Regions from separate parts of the Homo sapiens genome. Here region 2 is linked to region 1. The links are contacts of gene promoters, found by promoter capture Hi-C in human tissues and cell types (Jung and others, 2019). All regions are on one chromosome and are shown on one strand. The core of a region is centred on a gene start or on the middle of the fragment in contact, and the rest is flanking DNA. Distances in the headings are between cores, read along the strand shown. Region 1 holds the start of NDUFS4 (NADH:ubiquinone oxidoreductase subunit S4). Region 2 overlaps ARL15 (ARF like GTPase 15).

Region 1 (5,925 bases), core at 1,429-3,928:
GGCTTTCCTGGGGAATTCAGATCCATGGAAGTTGGGGACTAGAATAGGTGTTAGGTGGAGAGGTTGAGCTTTGGTTGGTAGGGCCAGTAACAGGGCTATAGGAAGTTGCTCTTATGAACACTGGGACACATCCCATTATTCCTTCACATAGAAAATCTTTATTAAAATTCACCCAGACACCAAAGCCACCCTTGGGCTTAAAATTTCTCTCTGAAATAGAGAACCCAGAAATAGCCACACACAAGTATGGCCAACTGATATTTTGACAAAGGTGCAAAAGGGACTCCATGGAAGAAGGATAAACTTTTCAATAAGTAGTGCTAGAGCAATTGGATAGCCACAAGCAAAAACCTGAACCTAAACCTCACACCTATTAATGGAAAACTTAACTCACAAAAATTACATAGACTTAAATGTAAAAGGCAAAACTAAAACAACCTTTGAAAGAAAACAAGATAAAATCTTTAGGATACAGGATTAGAGAATAGTTCTCAGACATGACAGCAAAAGCACAATCCATAAATTTAAAAAATGAATAAACTGGACTTCATCAAAATTAAAAATATTTGTTCTGTGGCAGATCTTGTCAAGAGAATGAAAATACAAACTACAGATTGAAGAAAATATTTGTGAATCATGCATCTGACAAAAGACACATCTAATATATGAAGAACTCTCAAAATGTACAGGTAAAAAACCAAATAATGCTAATTAGAAAATGGGCAAAAGACATAAGGACATTTAACTGAATGGAATATACAGATGGCAGATAAAAACATGAAAAGATATTCAACATTATTAGCCACCAGGGGAATAAATGTAAAACTGTGATGAGGTATTACTGCACATTTATTATTTACTTTAGCTCAGCTAAAACAAAAATAGCAATAATAGAAAATGCTGGTGAGGATATGGAGAAACTGGATCTCTCATACATTGCTGGAGGAAATGTAAAATGTTACAGTTACTCTGGAAAACAGTTTTTAATTTCTTTAAAAAATGACACATACATGTATCACATGACCTGGCAATTGCACTCCTGGGCATTTATCTCAGAGAAATGAAGATTTTTGTCCACATAAAAACCTGTATTCAATTGTTTGCAGCAGTTTTATTTGTAATGGCCCCAAATGGGAAACAATCAAAATGTTCTGCAATAGGTGAATGGTTAAACAAATTGTGGTACATCCATGTCATGGAATATTACTCAGCAATAAAAAAGGAATGAACTATTGATAAACACAACAACTTGGATGGGTCTCAAGTGCATTATGCCAAGTGAAAGAAGCCAATCTTAGAAGGTCATGTACTGCATGAGTCCATTCATATAACATCTCAAAATGTCAAAATTATAAAAACAGAAACAGAGATCACTAGGGTTAGGAGGGCAGGTGTTACCAAAAAGGTTAGCACTAGGGAGATCTTTGTGAGGGTGGAATAGTTCTGTATCTTGATCATGGTGGTGGTTACACAAAATATGTAGTAGAATGACATAGGACTACACAAATACTTTATATCAATGCCAGTTTCCTGGCTTTGATACTGTACTAGAGTTATACGAGATGTAATCACTGGGGGAAACAGGTACACAAGACATCTGTACTATCTTTGCAACTTCATGTGAATCTATAACTATTTCAAAATGAAAAGTTTGAAAGAAAATTTTCTCTGAGGCATCTCTCCCTTGCCTTCCTTCATCTTGTGCATTTCTTTCCCTGAGTATGACTTTTTCTCTTTCTTTCTCCCTTTCCCTTATGTACTGGGTTTTCCTTTAACGGTCCATAATGCCAAACTATGTCATTCCCCATCCTCCTATTGTTCCTATTTATTTAATGAAGGTTATGTTTTCATGTGCTTAATTTTAAAAGCAGGAAAGTACTAACTCTTTAAACAAATTTCTTAAAAAACAAAACCCAAAACTAACCTGCTTTTTATTTTATATAATTCAGTTAGTCATTATTCTTTAAGGTCGGAAGTCCACAATACAAACATGTTTCCAACACTTGTATTGGAAGATAATTTTTGTTTTATATGCATGGAGCATTAATATCATTCTTCATGTCTATGGATTATGAACACACACACATTCAGGATTTACTGGGGAAACAGTGACATCAAATATTATGTTCTATTGATTCTTCATATAAATCTACATGTCAAAAAATAATCCTTTGCCAGATCACGTATCCAGATTTTTCGTTTGGAAAATACGAACATTACTACTACAGAATATCAAACTGAATACAGCCCTGTCCTGAGGGCTTGCAAAGTGAATCTGGCAATACTTTGGAAAAGTACTACTGCAGGTTCTCAAGGACCCAAAGAGCTCTCCAGCTTTTCCAGTGGGTTCAGCCCCAAATATCCTAATTTCTTCAATAAATTACGAGTTGCAGGTGTTTAAATATGCAAGTATATTTTGGTCTTTTCGTTATCATTGTAAAACACCAGTCCTAACAAGCAGTAAAGATTACACTTTATGGTGGTAATATTTACAGTTAATGCACTTCTGCATTTCTTCCCGCACATTTTTCTTCTTACTTATTTAAACTAAGCGTTTCCCCTCTTTTTTTAAGCCCCAGTATTAAAAAGAAAATAAAATCCCAAAGAATTTCGCAACATTGCGATTGCACTGGCTTGAGAACGAAGGAAGTTAGTCCCTTGCGGTGATCCGTCCTTTCATCCTGGCGTTTGCCTGCAGCAAGATGGCGGCGGTGTCAATGTCAGTGGTACTGAGGCAGACGTTGTGGCGGAGAAGGGCAGTGGCTGTAGCTGCCCTTTCCGTTTCCAGGGTTCCGACCAGGTAATAGAATTTTCACACTTTTCTTCAAGCTTCTTGGGTCCCTCCATTTTTGCGGAGTCTCTGCTGGCTGAGTTCCGGAGGAGGCCTCGGGGAAGGCGTCCTCTGTTGACCCTTTTCTCGGGAGAAGTCGGGCGGACTAGGGACTGTCTGCTATCAATGGGCGTTGGCCAGGCGAGTGAGGGCGTGAGTGCGAGGCCGGGGAGGAGGACCTGTGGTTTTCTGGAAGCTTTCGTATTCGGCTTGTCGCTGAGGGAGAGGGTCCGTGGAGGTTTTGCCTCCGGAGCTGCAAGCTGAACCTTAGCCCTCAGAGAAGGGGAGGAGTCTCACTGATTTCTGTTTCCACTTTCTGCATCCCTTCCATTTGTCACCTGTTTGCCCACCACTCCAGTCCTTACAGAAGGGTTAAATCACTGTATCCCTTCCATGGTTTTAAGTGGTTTTAATTTGGTTTCTGCATAGGAAGATTGTTTATTCATCAGTCTGCTTGGGAGGAAAACTTGTTTGGAATTCAGTGTTAGTAAAAATATCACTGCTAGTAATATTGGAAGGTAATTTTTAAAAGGCTGGTGGTAATGCCTGGAGGTTTTCTAGGGATTTTGTTAAAGCCTCACAATAATTCAGGGATTGAATTGAGTTGTTGAGGGCTCTTTGCGTCCTTGAGAACCTAAAGTAGTACTTTTCCAAAGTATTGTCAGATTCAGTTGTCAGTTGATTGAGTTGTTACTGTTTTTCCTTGAAGCATTTTTGTGATGATTTTTTTTTTTTTGGCTGTATTAACCTTCCATTTTCTATTTTTCAGAATTTCCTGGAGTTTTTTAAATTATAGTACTAATGCTATACGTACATACACACACATATTAGAACAAAGATTGGAAAGACTGGATGGAGAGATTTGAAGGGGGTAGGAGGTGGATGCAAGTGGTTAAAAGTTGAAAGGAAGGTCTAGTAGAATGCTAATTGATTTAGTGTTAAATATAAATGGAATGCAGAGAATTAGGATGAGTTAATTCGGAAGAATTTTTAAGGATGAGTTTTATTAAGGTTTAAATATAGTGGGTGTTGGGTGGGAAAGAAGAGAGTGTCCCGTAGGGTCCGTGGCTTATGAAAAGGCTTGAAAGCATTAGTTAAACGATTACTAAATACATAGAATAGAGTCACTCAAAAGTAAGGGTGCTAAGATTGGGGAAAGGCAAATGATGTTTGTAATTAAGTGTTCCATATATGGAAAGTATTTTTCCTTTTTCTTTCTCTTTTTTTTTTTGAGATACATTCTCACTCTGACGCCCAGGCTGTAGTGCAATGGCGTGATCTTGGTTCACTGCAACCTCCGCCTCCCGGGTTCAAGCAGTTCTCCTGCCGCAGCCTCCTGACTAGCTGGGATTACAGGCGCGCACCACCACACCTGGCTAATTTTTGTATTTTTAGTAGAGGCGGGGTTTCACCATGTTGGTCAGGCTGGGTTAAGTATTTTTCTAAGGTAAAATACTTCACTGGTTAACTTAGAGTTAATATAGCGGTGACCAAGATTAGCCCTTCCTCCCGTACAGATTATAGGGATTAATTGTCATTCCCAGATAATAATGTACTCATGGTAGCCCCAGAACTGAAAACAAGTTTGAAGGGACCACTGGTTTATGGCTAATCAAAACATGGCTGTAATTTTAAGTCAAAGCCATTTTGTCAGCAATTATAGTAATTGAAGTTGAGATTAGATTTTTGAAACTCTGATGATAATTGTTACTACATATCCAAACTTAAGAGTTTTTGCCTGCAAATGTAAGAGATTTGAAAATAAATCATTTAATCTTGAAAAAAAATCTTAATGCCAGGGAAGACGTTTTTTAAATACAAATTAACACATTTATTTGTTTTCTGTGCCACATTTTTACCCTAAGAGCTTGTCATGTTCATCCTAATTTGAGGGAAATTTATAGACCCTCTCCCTTACATATTGTTTGTTCTTCATCCTTAAGCATTCTTTTTCCATTATGATTTGATAGTAATGAGGATCTGAAAAAGGTGAGTAGAAAGAACCAATTAATGGGAAAATCTACATCTAAAATTCATTTTATTGTAATGCTTAGAAAAACATTTGCAAATCATGTAACATTTCAGATCATTTGAATAGAATATGGGAAGTGGAATCAGTAAGGTAAGGAGTGGAGTAGGGAACTGAAGGAAAGGAAGGGCCGGGCGCGGTGGCTCACACCTGTAATCCCAGCACTTTGGGAGGCCGAGGCGGGCAGATCACAAGGTCAGGAGATCGAGACCATCCTGGCCAACACGGTGAAACCCCGTCTCTACTAAAAATACAAAAAATTAGCCAGGCGTGGCAGCGTGCGCCTGTAGTCCCAGCTACTCAGGAGGCTGAGGCAGGAGGATGGCGTGAACCCGGGAGGCAGAGCTTGCAGTGAGTCAAGATCGCGCCACTGCACTCCAGCCTGGGCAACAGAGCCAGACTGTGTCTCAAAAAAACAAAAAAAAAAAAAAAAAAGAAAAGGAAGGATGCTGTTAGCTGCTACATTAACATATTAATTCAATTATAGTATATCATCAGTGAAAAGCAAAACAAAGAATGCAACAACACATACACACAAGAGAGAAAAAATCTAGTAATGTGGGTGATTGAGCTGATCTAGTTACTTACTGAGCTTGTGCTGTAGTGTTGGTCTCAGTTTCCATGTGCTTCTCATTTCCCTGTACCGAATGTGAGGAGGCAAAAAAAGGGGTTAAATTGTCTACATTTTTTTTTTTTTTGGAGATGTAGTTTCGCTCTTGTCACCCATTCTAGAGTGCAGTGGCACAATCTCAGTTCACTGCAACCTCTGCCTCCCGGGTTCAAGCGATTCTCCCGCCCCAGCCTCCAGAGTAGCTGGGATTACAGGTGCCCACCACCTCGCCCAGCTAATTTTTTTATTTTTAGTAGAGATGGAGTTTCACCGTGTTAGCCAGGCTGGTCTCAAACTCCTACCCACAGGTGATCCACCCGCCCCGGCCTCCCAAAGTGCTGGGATGACAGGCGGGAGCCACCGCGCCCATCCCTAAGTTGTCTACATTTATCCTTACTTTCCCTGACTTTCCTAAGAGATTTTCCAGGGTAAATTTAACTATTCTAAATGCATTTA
Region 2 (5,925 bases), core at 873-3,372, 520 kb after region 1:
TTGACTTTTTTTTAACCACCATAATATTCGCTGTGGTTTTAGAAGTTTTACCCTTTCAAAAACTACATATACATACGTGTGTGTATAGACAGATACTCACATTTGGAAGGAAAAAATCCTGGTAACATTTTAAATTATCATCATGAAAAAGTATCTCTTGTGACTGCAAGTTGAATATGTTCTATCTTCCAGAGATACACTAAAGACACATAATCTAATCAACTCCTACCAAGATAAAATAGGAAGAAGCCCTCACACCAGCCCCTTGGCTCTCCTTTTTTTCTGTGTTTTTCTCCTCTTTGTTTCTGAGTGTATATTGCTCTTGCACCTTTAATGCTCAGAAGGAAGATGAAGCTTCAGCTAAGGCCTTACTTTTTCCTTCTCAAGCCTCATATTTAGAGGGGGGAAAATTAGATGCAAAATCACCTTTTGATTATATGCAAATTTGTCAAATTTTTCCATTAAATGGTATATTAAGGAAATAGAGGCTGCTGAAGAATTGGGCATAGTAAAAGACCTAGATTTGAACTAATTTTATCATTTTATTTCTGACTCTGGAGGAGTGGCTACCTTTGTTGAAAATATGGGAAAAATGAAAAGACAGATGAGGCCTACGAATCTTCATATTTTAGAGTAAAAATAAGGGAAACAGAAAGAAAAATATGTAAGCAAATGTGGTATGTTTAAAGGTTAGGATTTCACACAATGCATTTATTTTTCTCACTAGTTATGTTTGACAATGGGGCTTAATTTACCAAGGAAGAAATAACCATGACGTCTTTCTACTGTCTAGAGAACAAATCAAAGAATTGTATTTCATGAGCAGTGCCTTCCAATTAAAAAAGAAGAATAAAGGAAAGAGAAAAGCTCATATATTCTGTTGAGTGTGTAGCAAATACATAGTACCACTGTGGCTATTTAAACAATTGAGGCTAATGGAACTAAGGAGAACTTCTAATGCAACTGAAATTGATGCAATGGTACACTTTAATTTTTAAGTGTTTCTCTTAAATATTCTATGCAATAGGGATTGAGTGCTCATTTGATTAACTTATTGCAGGGATGGTTGCGCAAGAATTAAATGTGCTTTGGCTGGACATTGACAATGAAATGAATCTGAATATACTTAAATGTGATATATACTGTTGCTTTGGGTCAAAAGTTTTTTCATGAGAAAATATCACCAATTAACTAAAATCAAAGAGAAAATGTCATTTTCTCCTCATTTAGGTTCTTTTAGGAATACATTAACTATATTATCAGTGCAGCACCTGTCTTTATTAATAATAGATGTAAATGTTGGTTCTCTGAGCTGTCAAACTTACAACTCAAACTTCCTAAAGTAAATCGATAACTATAATACATGACTATAATAATGTAGAACTGTGAGTTCTGCAAAATATCTAATAAGTTTTGAGTACCATTTAATCTGGGAGTTTTTGTTTCAAAGGACAACAATACCTCAGAAAAGGTTTATCACTGATGAGTTGTTCATTATTCAATGAAGATTTATCATACATATGCTAAAATTAAATGGAGTAGGGAGGGGGCTGGAGAATTAATCATACAGAAAAGAAGATGACTGAATGATCTATATGGGGGTAGTAATCCCCACACTGCCAGCGTTTATTCCATAGCCAGGGTGCCATGGGAACCAAGGGGCTGAGTCGCCCAGTCTTTGGGAGGAGTCTCATCTCAGAGGAAACCAGGAAGTCTTCCAGGAGGACCACTGGACATTAGCCAGGCTAGGGGTGAAGGGCAGGGGCACTGCAGGCCGTTGGAGTGCTCTTGTACAATTAGCCTTAGCCAGTGGGCTTGGCACTCTCAGCCTGTGTAACCAAACCCAGAAGGGGTCTAGAAGGCCTTTCAGGACACCGTATGCTTCAGAATAGGAGCGGATTCTCAGTCCACAGATGGTTCCTGATAGAGTGGCTGGGTGGGGTAAGACTATTCTTGGGCTCATCTAGTCTTAGAGATCTGGAGACTCCCAGAGGGGTGGAGGAGTAGGATACTTTTGGGGCCACTACAGTGGTACTGACTCTTCAAAAAAAAAAAAAAGAGAGACTGTAACTTAAAGTGATCTAAATTTATTCATTTTTAAGGGAAAAAGCACAACAGAAAGAACAATCACTCTGTCTACCCTTTCTCCTCAACGCTGCCCCTCGACATCTCCCTGGGAGAAGCTGTAAGACTGCCATTGTTTTTGTACGACCCCCAGATGCACAAAGTTGTGGGGAGCCTTCACATTGCCATCTCCCCTCCAGAGCCAGATTTGTCTGTGGCATTAGTGCACTGAAAGCTGAGGGGTAGGGTTGGGTATTCTCTGGAGGACAAAGTGCTAATGTTCAGTAATTCTGCAAACATATGAAGACAACATTGCCTACCTGCCAAGGGTGTGGCACCATGTTCTGGCGAAAAAAACTGCAACTGATTTCACTCATCCAAGCAAATTCTTAGGGTGTAATGGGAGTTGAAAAACATCATCTTGGAACCTACTAAAGGGACAAACATGATATGAAAATGATTGGGCGGGAGAGGCCATATTTATGAATCCTTAGTGAGGCTGTTTTATGGTTCAGATATTATGGCTTTGGCTAATGTCTGAGTATATGTATACACAGATTTTAATAAAAACAACCGTGAAATTTGAGAATCCACTTCACTGAAATTATAGAACAAATATATCTTGGATACTACATTTTGCGTAAGGCTGCAGTCATTCCCTTTAGGTGAACTGAAATGACACTGCTACCATGTCTTTTCTGTACAGAACAGGGAAACAATGACAATAAGAATAAATGAATTGTTTAACCCTGTGAGCTTCAGAATGCTTAGCAAACTACTGTGAATCAAAAGATACTACAGAACAATCTTTGGCTTTACTTGACAGTATTTAACAGGTCTTATAAGTCTATTTATTTTATTTATTAGTCCTTTATTTTACTCCCAATGACCTCATTTCCTTCTCCTTTGCTATAGTTTACAGCAAAGCAATTTGAAATAGCAAATCAAAATATTATCCGAGGACAAAATGTAATAAATGCAGAAATTGAGAATAAGTTTTTTTAGAAATTTTTGTTGCAGTGTGACATAGCTGTGACTCCCAAATATATAATCAGTGGCTTCATGTCACTGAACGTACAGACTAAAATTGCCAGTTGGTGATGAATTAGGGAGGAAACATGGGTATTTCCCCACAAATATTTTTATTAGTATTGGTTTAAAACATCTGGCAATTGTACATAAAATATTTTTAAATTCCCTTCAGCTATCAATATATAAATTATTGCAAAATTTATTAGGCTAACACTTTCTAACTTGTACTCTTAGATACAGAATAAAGATATTCTTGGTATCTGGAACACTGTAGTTGCTTCCATTGTCTTTGGCAGGTTTTCACTAGGAGAATGGTCAGCGCCATAGGTGGTAACCACGGCTTAGAAGAAAAGAGAAGAGGTGGATGGGTCCCAGGAGAGGCAGACTGAAATACCTATATTCTCTCCTAAGCGTCCCATGGCTCCAGGCACCACACATGAGCTTTTTTTTTTTTTTAGATGGCGTTTCACTCTTTTTGCCCAGGCTGGAGTGCAATGGTGCTATCTAGGCTCACCGCAACCTCCCTCTCCTGGGTTCAAGCAATTCTCCTGCCTCAGCCTCCTGAGTAGCTGAGATTACAGGCATGCGCCACCACGCCTGGCTAATTTTGTATTTTTAGTAGAGACGGGGTTTCTCCATGTTGGTCAGAGTGGTCTCGACCTCCCGACCTCAGGTGATCCGCCCGCCTCGGCCTTCCAAAGTGCTGGGATTACAGCCATGAGCCACCGTACTTGGCCTCTACACATAAGCTTTAGCATCTGGATACTTCAGCTAATCTGGGACAGGTCCAATGAATATTTCCACAGTTTATCACTTTGGAAGTTATAGGCTTTTTTCAAAATCCCCTTTAATTGCTTATTAGTTCTATAGCTCTATAAAGGCAAATAGCCTCATCCTGCTCATAGGAACTTTAGGGAAGTGCTTTACAATCTCCAGCCTTCAAGACATTGAGACAATGAAAAGGCCTTTTTTTTTTTTTAAGTATATGTGTTTCGCAGTAGCTTAAATAGACATTTACCAGATGTAAATTTTATCAGGCTTTGTGTTGAAGAGATTTCTTCAAGTGGTGATTGTTGACTCTAACTGTAATGTATTTTATGATCTCTCCAGATAGAATAGGAGGGAAAAATGAGAATATTAACCCTTCCTCTACCTGCTATTAGTTAATCCTAACAAATACTCTATGAAACATACATGCTATAGCCAAAAAATACACACTGGTCCGCTATACTAGAAGCAAAAGAAATCAGAATGGGTTAAAAAAAACAAGGCAACTAGCCTAATGATACGTACAATGAATTTGGCCTTCATTTTTCTAGGCTCTGGGTTTGCTTTTCACAAAAACTGGAATCAAGTTCCTCTAGGCGGTTGACTTAATGATTTGAAAACAGTAGTATAAACAAAACATGAAGCCACATGGGAGAGACGAGGAATTTATATATGCAAAGTCAACACATACTTTATGGCTAAATAATTTTCATGGTTTTAATAATTTAAAAAATGTTCAAAGCTGAATTAATAGATGATTTTCATGTTAAACCTGGGTAAGCAGAAGTAAGGTGTTTAAGAACTCAGAGTCACTGGGCGTGGTGGCTCACGCCTGTAATCGCAGCACTTTGAGAGGTCAAGGTGGGCGGATCACGAGGTCAGGGGATCAAGACCATCCTGGCTAACACAGTGAAACCCCGTCGCTACTAAAAAATTAGCCAGGCGTGGTGGCAGGTGCCTGTAGTCCCAGCTACTCGGGAGGCTCAGGCATGAGAATGGTGTGAATCCGGGAGGCGGAGCTTGCAGTGAACTGAGATCAAGCCACTGCACTCCAGCCTGGGCGACAGAGCGAGGCTCCATCTCAAAAAAAAAAGAGAGAACTCAGAGTCATATAACCTATACATGGTACTGCCGAGATCTTGGGCTGCAGCTCCTGGTTTCTATACTAAGCCATGTTATTATGCTACTTTAGCAATTTCTAGCCCTAGATCTCCTTAATAACAAAAATCAAAAGCATGTCATGGTTAGATTCTTTGAATTCTGCCACTTTCAGGAAGTAGCACCTCTGGTTTGGATAGCTAAAAGGAATAGCAGAGGTATTAAGCCACAACTGCACTTACCACAAATATTCCACTCTTTTAAAATATAAACATGTGACTGTTAAAATATAAACATGTGACTCGTTTCCATTGGCATTCACCGCTTTCACAAAGACAATGGAAGAAGCCAGTAACACTGCTACATCTACAGGAAACAAAAATGAAACTAAATGGCTCCAAATATATATATATATTTGAGTCTCTTAAGTTCAAGTGATTCTCCTGCCTCAACCTCCTGAGTAGCTAGGATTACAGTCACATGACACCATGCCCGACTAATTTTTGTATTTTTAGTAGAGATGAGGCTTCACCATGTTGGCCAGACTGGTCTTGAACTCCTGACCTCAAGTGATCTGCCTGCCTTGGCCTCGCAAAGTGCTGGGATTATAGGCGTGAGCCACTGTGCCCAGTCGGCTCCAAATATTAATAAGCATAACCAGGGTACTGTATTTTGGATATTAGCTGATTGATTGTACAGTTACAAAAATATGATGCATCCTAGGAACTATCCATTGAAATTTTCCTGTTAAGATAGCAAGATATACTGCCAACTAGCATGACTGTTTCCAGAAAGCATATGGGAAGGTGATAAAGAAGGGGCAAATAATAGAGCAAAACACAAAAAGACCAAGAGAAAAAAACAATTAATTCTACAATTGGGGAATTGTCAGGACAAAGATATGTATAAATTAAGATAAAGGAATGTGAAGTATGCAGTGCTGACTGAAGAGGTCATATGGGG

What was found. Contacts are between HindIII fragments. The study calls those that stand out against the background at their distance.
Region 2: a fragment that was not itself captured here is called in contact with the fragment with the promoter of NDUFS4 in region 1 in 2 of the 25 tissues and cell types used here (mesenchymal stem cells and mesendoderm cells).

What each region holds. Positions count from the first base shown.
Region 1 is chr5:53,557,961-53,563,885 of GRCh38, forward strand. It overlaps NDUFS4 (NADH:ubiquinone oxidoreductase subunit S4), which reads left to right and starts at 2,679. Exons shown (of 5, transcript NM_002495.4): 1 at 2,679-2,800. The coding sequence starts at 2,703. RefSeq lists an enhancer at 2,581-3,080. The HindIII fragment of the contact is 8,769 bases long and covers 1-5,237 here.
Region 2 is chr5:54,082,381-54,088,305 of GRCh38, forward strand. The region is part of intron 4 of ARL15 (ARF like GTPase 15); the gene reads right to left. Among named protein-coding and RNA genes, the nearest start is that of MIR581, 130 kb to the left of the region's middle. The HindIII fragment of the contact is 5,895 bases long and covers 1-5,070 here.